3 separate regions of the Homo sapiens genome follow, and all the other regions are linked to region 2. The links are contacts of gene promoters, found by promoter capture Hi-C in blood cells and fetal thymus (Javierre and others, 2016). All regions are on one chromosome and are shown on one strand. Each heading gives the region's core, a stretch centred on a gene start or on the middle of the fragment in contact. The rest is flanking DNA. Distances are from core to core; before and after follow the strand shown.

Region 1 (2,787 bases), core at 77-2,576, 2.0 Mb before region 2:
GCATCAAAGTAGCAGAGCTGGGAATGCAAATTCAGAGAACTTGATAACTCCATTAGAAGACAATGAGGGGAATTAGTTGCTGAGAGGAGGAGCACACTGTGTGGGAGGAGGTAAAGGACAGAACATGGGAAAGTTATGATGTAAGCCTTGGCAAATGCAAGAGGCATTTCTTCACTAGAAATAGAAGGGAAGAATGAATGATGAGGTAGGGTTTGGGCAACCTGAATAATGGTCCCCTGAAGAAATCTACATCCCTGTGAATACATCACTTTACATGGCAAAAGAGGCTTTGCAGATGTGTTAAGTTGAGGATTTTGAGATGGAGAATTTTTCCTGAAATATCTAGATGGGTTCAATCTAATCTCAGGGGTCCCTATTAGAAGGATGCAGGGCTGGACACAGTGGCTCACATCTGCAATCCCAGCACTTCCAGCAATTCGGGAGAGCAAGGCAGGAAAATCGCTTGAGTTTGGGGGTTTGGGACCAGCTTAGGCAACACAGTGAGACTTTGTCTCTATTAAAAATAAATTAGCCAGATATGGTGGCATGCACCCGTAGTACCAGCTACTTGGGAGGCTGAGGCAGGAGGATTGCTTGAGCCCAGGAGGTTGAGGTTGCAGTTTACAAGAAAATTAGCTCCTGTGGACCGTATTAAGAATTTTCACCCTCCCCAAAGCAGAATCTTATGATTAGCTTTGCATTTGGAAATCAGTATTTGGCTGCAGGGTGGAGGAACAGAAGAATCGGGACAAGTGTGGACTAGGAGACACCAATAAGGAGGCAGTGGCATTACTTGCCACACAGTGCTTGAGACACAGAGGGGGCCCAATAAGCCTTAGTTCCCCACTCAAATTCTAGAAGACTGCCAACACTGACTTGCCTTTTAAAGAAAGTCAGGTTTTCAGCTTACCCTACACTTCAGAGCAAGCATAAATAAATCAATGAATTCTATTTTCTCCAAATCTCTGACCGATCAGCATGTGTAGGCTGCATCCACAGGTGAGAAAAGTGAAATTACTGGGCCTGTAGGCAGTTCAGTTACATTCATACAATCATGCACAGGCAATGAATAATCTGGAGTTTTCCTATGAGTTACTGCTTTGGGAGCAGTTTGAGCCTAAGTTTTGATTCCAGAGAAGGCAAAGAAGAACTATTCTCACCCAGACAATTATCATCTGCAAGAACAAAGTGCAGAAAGCAGATCAACAGTCAGTAAACATAATTTTAAACAACCCACATCCCTAAAATCTATGTTTTTTCACTATAGTGACAAGAATTCTTGAAAGACCAACTAAAAGCAGATAAGAATTTTCTAGAAGGTAAAAGATAAAAGATTTTGATGCCATCGGCCACATTTTTATGAGCCATATCTTTATGACTAGAAATTATTGATTACTGTAAAAGTTCCCTTAAGTCAGGAGACCTGCTACTACTTTTCATGTCTCATTTACTATAATTTTTTTATAGCTGTTTTAACAGTAAATCCTATTTTTGAATTTGAGTATGAAGACAAAAATGAATTAAATCTATCTGAATTTTATTCTATCTGGCAGTTCCTGGCTGTAAGACTTTGGGCAGTTTACTTAAACTCTCTTGCCTCTGTTTCCTCATCTTTCAAGTGGGAATGAAGATAATTTACTCTTAAAGGGCCTTTGTGAGATGAATTATAATAACATGGTGAAGCCTTAGAACAGAGCTGGCACGTGGTAAGCACTATCTCAAAGCCTAGCAATTGTAACCCAGTACCCCCATTTTTCTAAGAGGTGGTTTTTCTCTCTTATTGTTCTCCTGGTTCCCCACATCCTATTTAGCCCTTCAGAAATGGAACTATATAGGCTTTTACCTCTCCTTCAGACATCTCTTACTGGGTAAGTTCACGTAACTGTGTGCTCTAAGACAGAACTCTTAACAGTTAATTTACAAACCACAGCATGTTTGCTAGGGAACTCTCACCCTCCAGGAAGTTGTCTTGAGAGATAACAGCTTGCCCAGGAAAACACCAGCAGTCACCAGCTCTACTGCGTGGTAGATAAGCTAGTATGAGGACCATTGCCCTTGCTCACTTTCTCCCCTGTCTTTTAAAAGTGCTCACTTTCTTCTCCAAGAGGGAAGCGGTACATTTAAAGGTGGGATGCCTGTGCTTCATCCTCTAAGCTAGCTTTGGAAATAAATCACTTTCTTTATACCAGACCTCACTCTTGTTAATTGAACTCTGCAAGTGATAAGCAACTAACCCACATTTTGGTTACACTATTGTTACCTGCTATATATCACTCAAATCTAGAGCCAAGTCCGTTGTTTGTTGTGCATCTTCTCCCACTCATTGGTTTGCCTTTTTGATCTCTTGCCAGTAATTAACCTACTGTCTCTTAGCTCCAACCTCTCTGGGAGGTATTTGGCTTTGTGCTCCCCTAGGAGGTACTAGAGGGAAACCACAAGGCTGGAGAAAGAAGGGACTCACTCCTTCCTGTCTGCTTCTTGCTCCTGGGAACATCATGCTCGTCCCACTTCTCCAATGTCATTGTGTTCCTGTAGCAGCAATCACATCCAGCATGTAGTTTTTCCAACATTTGCAGAACCAGCCTTTCAACCTGTCAAGAGACCCTGGCTGTAGCTGACCAGCACCTTCTCAGAGCACTGAATTTCAGCTCAATAGGCCCCTGCTTCCAGCTTCTGAGTTTAATAATGCCAACCTTTCCCTTTATATTCTAGACCTGCAATTATTACCTCCATGTTACCTTAATGTTCTCTTTTTGCCTTTTCAGTTACCTGGTTACAATTCTGTAA
Region 2 (2,972 bases), core at 303-2,802:
TAGGCATCCTTCACAGAGGGGAAAAAGCAGAAGCTGTGTAGTCTAAAGACCCTGGCTCAAGCTGTCTTCGTAATCTTTTTGCTGCTTGGGCTGCTCTCGATGTCTCAATGTTGGGAAAGAACAAGGCTCAGCCAACAGTAAGGACCTTCCTATGTGCCAGCTACCATGTGCTGTAATCAAGTGTTTTCTTAGTTCCCCTTACACCTCCTCTGTATTTCAGAAAGTCCTCTACCCTGAAAATGTGATGAGAGTGCCACATGACAACTTACCTTCTTATGCACTCCATTGGTCGGCCATTCAGCCAATATCAGATTTGGGGGTCTAGTCAGGTCTTGCTTCCCAAGCTTTTCAGAAACCCTGATGAAACAGGCATAGGGTCTAAACTTAGGGAGGGCAAAACTTACAGCCAACTCCAAATGCAGCAAGCAAAATAAATAAGCGCCTAAACCATTGAATCTTTATGTGAAAGCCATAGCCCTTTAGAGCTAACATTTGCAATCTTCTTAATTATAGGAAGTAGATACAGAGGGGTAAAGTTATTTAACTGGGAATCTACCCCACACCTCAAAGGTTAGGTCACTAATTGCGGGTGCACAGGAGAGATGGTAGGATGGGAGGGACAGGAGAAGACATGTTTAGATATATCTGGTAAATAATTTGGTGGTGGTGGGAGCCTTCATTCCCACCCCCAACCCGCCCCCCCCTTTTAAAAAAATCCTATTTCCGAGACAAAAGCAATATAACATAACTTTGTATTTCCTGAAACTTCCAGTTTCTAAGAACTGTCCAAGAGTACTTACACGCACATTCCCGAGACCGTTGGAGTTGTTCGATAGGTCTAGGGAGGGATCTGGGGATACGTGTTTTACAAGCACCATGAGCGATTCTTCAAAGTTGGGTGTTTGAATCAAAAGAGCAGAATTCATGATACCGTTTTGTGCACTCCTTGAGCTAAAAGGTAGTATCCCACCCTCTCCATAAACAGACACCTAAGTTATAAAACTTATGCGCTCGATATGCAAAAATAGCTCGTTTTATACAGAAACGATCCTTTCCTTCTTTTCCTTATATATCTTTTAACTGTCATCACTCCTAACCTAGACCTAGAGTGGCTTTTTCCGGTCCTAGCTCTGCCGGACACACGCTCTGCCCAGAGACCCGATCCACCCAAGGCCAGGCGGTCTGGGGTCACGTCTGTGTCCAGCGTCCGGCGGGCGCTGCCGTGCCGCTCTCCCATTGGCTGGAAGTTCCCTCGCGGGCCGGCGCGGCTCCTGCTCGCCACGCCAGCCCATCGGGCTACGGACCGCCCAGGGGGGCGGGGCTTGGGAGTTGGGGCGGGGCCCGGGTGAGGGGCGGGGCCTCGGGGCGTCGCGGACGTCCTGGCGGCCTACTGCGTGGGAGGGAGTCCTGGGCCGCGCCCCGCGAGGCCGGGCCCAGGCCGGGCCAATCCCGGGCCACTGGGCGGGCGACCGTGGGGCCTGGCCGGCCCGCCGGAGAGCCTGGGGGTTGGGGACGATGGGCTAGTTCCTGGTGCGTCACGGGGGAGTTCCTTAAAGGGGAAGCGAGCCGGGCTACGGGGCGAGCGCGGGGTGCGGTGGTCGGCGGGGAGGCCCCCGCGCTTTAAAATAATGCCCGCGGCGCCCGCGCGACCATGCAATGGCGAGCGCTCGTCCTGGGGCTGGTGCTCCTCCGGCTTGGCCTCCATGGAGTATTGTGGCTCGTCTTCGGGCTGGGGCCCAGCATGGGCTTCTACCAGCGCTTTCCGCTCAGCTTCGGCTTCCAGCGTCTGAGGAGCCCCGACGGCCCCGCGTCGCCCACCTCGGGGCCCGTGGGCCGGCCTGGGGGGGTATCCGGGCCGTCGTGGCTGCAGCCGCCGGGGACCGGGGCAGCGCAGAGCCCGCGCAAGGCTCCGCGGCGTCCTGGGCCGGGGATGTGCGGCCCAGCCAACTGGGGCTACGTGCTGGGCGGCCGGGGCCGCGGCCCGGACGAGTACGAGAAGCGCTACAGCGGCGCCTTCCCTCCGCAGCTGCGTGCCCAGATGCGCGACCTGGCACGGGGCATGTTCGTCTTTGGCTACGACAACTACATGGCTCACGCCTTCCCCCAGGACGAGCTCAACCCCATCCACTGCCGCGGCCGTGGGCCCGACCGCGGGGACCCGTGAGTAGCCCCCGCCGCCCGGGGCCGCGCGCCCACGCGCTTCCTTCCGCCCTCCGCGCCGGGGTGCAGCCCTCTGTCCTCCGGGGCCCCCGAGGGCGCCAGGGCCGTTAGGGTCCCGGGCAGCGCTCCCGCGCCCTGTCCCGTGTGAGTCCCTGTGAAGACCCCCGAGCTTGAGGGTGCGGGGTGGGCCGGTGGCCTTCCTCTCCTGATTCTCCCGGAATCTCCAAACTTCAGAACTGCTGTCCAGCTCAGTGTCTTACGCGTGAGGATACTGAGGTCCAGGACCAGAAGGGACAGTGGCAGTGCCAAGGGCTGGCTTGGAGGGCTTTCCACTTCCATCCGACCCCTTCCTCCGGATGAGCATAAACTCTAAATGAAATCTCCATCATGCCCCCCGTGTAAACGCAGCCTCAGAACAAGCCTTTACCTCGCACCCCCACCTCTATCACATTGCCACACCCACGTCTTTTCTATGTAAAAAGCCTATAGTTGACTTCTCCAAAGCCGTCCATTGAGTTTGAGGCAGAACGGGGTTACAGCCTCTCCTTCACAGGGGCTGCTTCTTAGGCTGAGGATAGTTAGGTGGTGGGGAGGGAAGCTATGTGGCCCACTTTTGGGGTCCAGATACTTGAGGTGAAATTCACTGGATGCCAGATTGACTGTCAACGTCATCGCCCTGTACGATCTGTCTATAAATCCCCCGCCTCTGGTGGCGTGGTTGTCCGGGAAGGTCAGGCAGTCTTCCCTGTTCACCAGCCTTGTTTGCAAAGGCTGAGCTCCAAGGGTCACCACTGTTGACATCAAAGTCCAAG
Region 3 (2,837 bases), core at 237-2,736, 1.5 Mb after region 2:
TATCTCATCTCTCACTATATACAAAAATTAAGTCAAGATGGATTAAGATTTAAGTCCAAGGCTGCAAACCATAGAAATTCTAGAAGAAAACTTAGGAAAAACTCTTCTGGACATTGGCCTAGACAAAGAATTTATGAATAAGACCCCAAAAGCAAATGGAACATAAACAAAAACAAATGAATGGGACCTGTTTAAGCTAAAAAGCTTCTGTACAGCAAAAGAAATATTCAACAAACAGGTAACCTACAGGATGGGAGAAAATATTTGCAAACTGTACTTCTGACAAAAGACTAATATATCTAGGATCTACAAGGAGCTCAAACAAATCAGAAAGGAAAAAAGAAAAACAAATAATCCCATTAAAAAGTGGGCAAACAATATGAACAGATATTTATCTCGAATTCCTGACCTCAAGTGATCCACTCGACTCGGCCTCCCAGAGTGTTGGGATTACAGGCATGAGCCGCCACGCCTGGCCAGAAGATATTTATCTAAAGAAGATACACAAATGTCCGTATTTAATATTTGCTCTTCAAATTCTGCTTCCCCTTCATTCTTTCTGTTATTTCCTTTTGGGACAATACAGCACATGATTTTTTTTTTTTTTTTTCATTTCTACATACTACTGTATGAGTCTTCACTTAGGTTTTTTTTTTCCACAATTGTATTTTATCAAACTGAAGTAAATTCATAAAAACCTACCACAAATGGAAATGTGGTATCAGGAACCAAAATAGCAATACTTGTACCAGTTTCTGATCTAAGTATTTATACATATTAACACAAATTTTGTCCTCAAAATAACCCTTTCTACTATTATTATTATCATCCCTACTTTAGAAATAGAGTAAATGTGACACGGAGGAAAGAAACGGCTTGTCTTCAGTCATACGGCTAGTAAGGAAGGGATAGAATGAGAAATTGAAAACAGGCTTCAGAATTATTCTTAAGCACCACACGCCACAGTAATACATTGCACTATCCCATGTGTTACCTTTTCAAGGTTTTCAGATAATTCTTTGTGAACTAAAAGAAATAACTTAGTAACCAGAATTCAATTTTATTCAATTCAAAAAATATAAATTGAATGCAGGCAGCTAGCTAATGATCAGCTTTGAAGAGACCTGATCATTAGCTAGCTGTGATCTTCTTTTTAACTAAAAAAATTAAAAGTCTGCATCTAAAATGAGAAAAAGAAATATCCCATATATATATGTGTGTGTGTGTGTGTGTGTATACACACACACACGTATATTTTTCACAGTGTTTTCTGAAGTTTTGCGCTCTAGTGTTATTAATAACCAAGAACACAGAAAGAAGGTGCCTACTATCCACAAGTTGTATAATACAATGCAATCAAATATATAATACATTTTAATCTTTGCATTTGAAATGCAAACATCATTGTGAAGTACAGCCTAAGTGTATTTTTGAATTTATTAAAAACATAGGCGTTACTGATTCTAGAGATAGTAACATGATGCCACATTACACTTTGAAAATGCAAAATCATTTTCCTCCAGGCGGAAGATAGAATGGGAGTCCTAGTTGACCTTCATATAATTTTTAGAAGATGGAGCACTTCAACTTCTTCCACTCATGAAAAGAGAGGTGGTAAGCTGACAGAAAAAATTTCTTTTTATTTACTGGCCATTACAGTTGTAAAATACTGCAGACATGAGCCTAACATAAATCAGTTCTCCTCAGATGAATATGCCTTAAGAGAGGCTTTCTGCCAAGGTTTCTTCACCTTGGCCATATCTCTCTGGAGTACTCTTGATCTGTCTCTGGCAGCCCTTTTGAATTTATTTTGTGTTTAATTCCAAATAATCCTCAATCAGAAAACAAAAATGGAGGCTCAATGCTCTACGGCTGAAAGGAACTTCAGAGGTTATATCAGTTCTATCATCTGTATCAGAATTCTTTCTGCTACAAGCAACAGAAAACACTGCTCAAACTTGCTTAAGCAAAAAAGAAATTGATTATCTCTGTAAAGTAATAGTTCAAATATATGTCATGCTTCAGATGAGGCTTGATCTAGTGGTTCAAAAAGCTCATGAAGGCCAGCATCACTTTCCCTTAGTTTATTCTTCCGTTTATAGTATGTGCCTCATTTTTGGAGTCTTTATGACTCCCATCATGAGAAGACGGCATGCACTGATTAACTTTAGCCACACGGAGTCCATTCTTTTTTTGGGCAGTACAGCCAATACTACCCAGACCATATGGTTTCTCTACAAATGGAAATTCACAATGCTAAAAGAAGTGGGGAAAATGGATGCTGGGGAAGAAGTCAAAAGATACCCATATCATCAACCCCATCGTTTTACAGATGAAAAAGAGACGTTTCAGAGCTACAAGATGGAAGGAGACCATCTGTTCTAAAACTACATTTATGTGACCAGAAGGAAATGTTAATTTTATTAAGCCAATAAGATGTCAAGGTTTATTTCTAACATTGGGGAAATAGAAAGTTTTCTCAGTCATCTTTTCAGTCTTGAGTTTGAGTTTCAGTCATTGACCTAGAATACACATCCCGGATCTTGCTCTCAGAGAACTCATGCTTTAATTCTTAATCTCTTTGGTGTTTAGTCTTCTGAGTGATTGCTTGAGGTTTCTACTTAGCAAAATGGGGACAATGAGGAATGTGTACCAAGATGAAAGAAACGCTTCATTGATAAATTAGATAGCACCTGCACATGCAGAGTTACAGTTGCATTTCTTACTGGCTTCGCCACATCACTTCTTACTCCTTGAAGTCATATAAGGAAAGCTTTTTTCTTTTTTAAAGTAGGGCATCGGTGGAATGACATGCCTTTTGAGACAGGGAACACAGC

What was found. Contacts are between HindIII fragments. The CHiCAGO score rates a contact against its expected background, and 5 or more counts as called.
Region 1: a contact is called between a fragment that was not itself captured here and the fragment with the promoter of EDEM1 in region 2, in 1 of 17 cell types (non-activated CD4 T cells). The highest score is 6.5, in non-activated CD4 T cells.
Region 3: a fragment that was not itself captured here is called in contact with the fragment with the promoter of EDEM1 in region 2 in 1 of 17 cell types (fetal thymus); the score reaches 10.1 in fetal thymus.

Annotation. Positions count from the first base shown.
Region 1 is chr3:3,190,158-3,192,944 of GRCh38, forward strand. No RefSeq gene overlaps it. Among named protein-coding and RNA genes, the nearest start is that of CRBN, 12 kb to the left of the region's middle. The HindIII fragment of the contact is 5,139 bases long and covers 1-2,787 here.
Region 2 is chr3:5,186,155-5,189,126 of GRCh38, forward strand. It overlaps EDEM1 (ER degradation enhancing alpha-mannosidase like protein 1), which reads left to right and starts at 1,553. Exons shown (of 12, transcript NM_014674.3): 1 at 1,553-2,160. The coding sequence starts at 1,652. RefSeq lists enhancers at 11-70, 2,492-2,541 and silencers at 1,182-1,591, 1,832-2,001, 2,052-2,341. The HindIII fragment of the contact is 7,598 bases long and covers 343-2,972 here.
Region 3 is chr3:6,708,930-6,711,766 of GRCh38, forward strand. All of the region lies in intron 2 of GRM7-AS3 (GRM7 antisense RNA 3), which reads right to left. LOC105376944 (a long non-coding RNA gene) reads left to right here. Exons shown (of 8, transcript NR_188695.1): 3 at 1,524-1,614. Among named protein-coding and RNA genes, the nearest start is that of GRM7-AS3, 95 kb to the right of the region's middle. The HindIII fragment of the contact is 2,569 bases long and covers 203-2,771 here.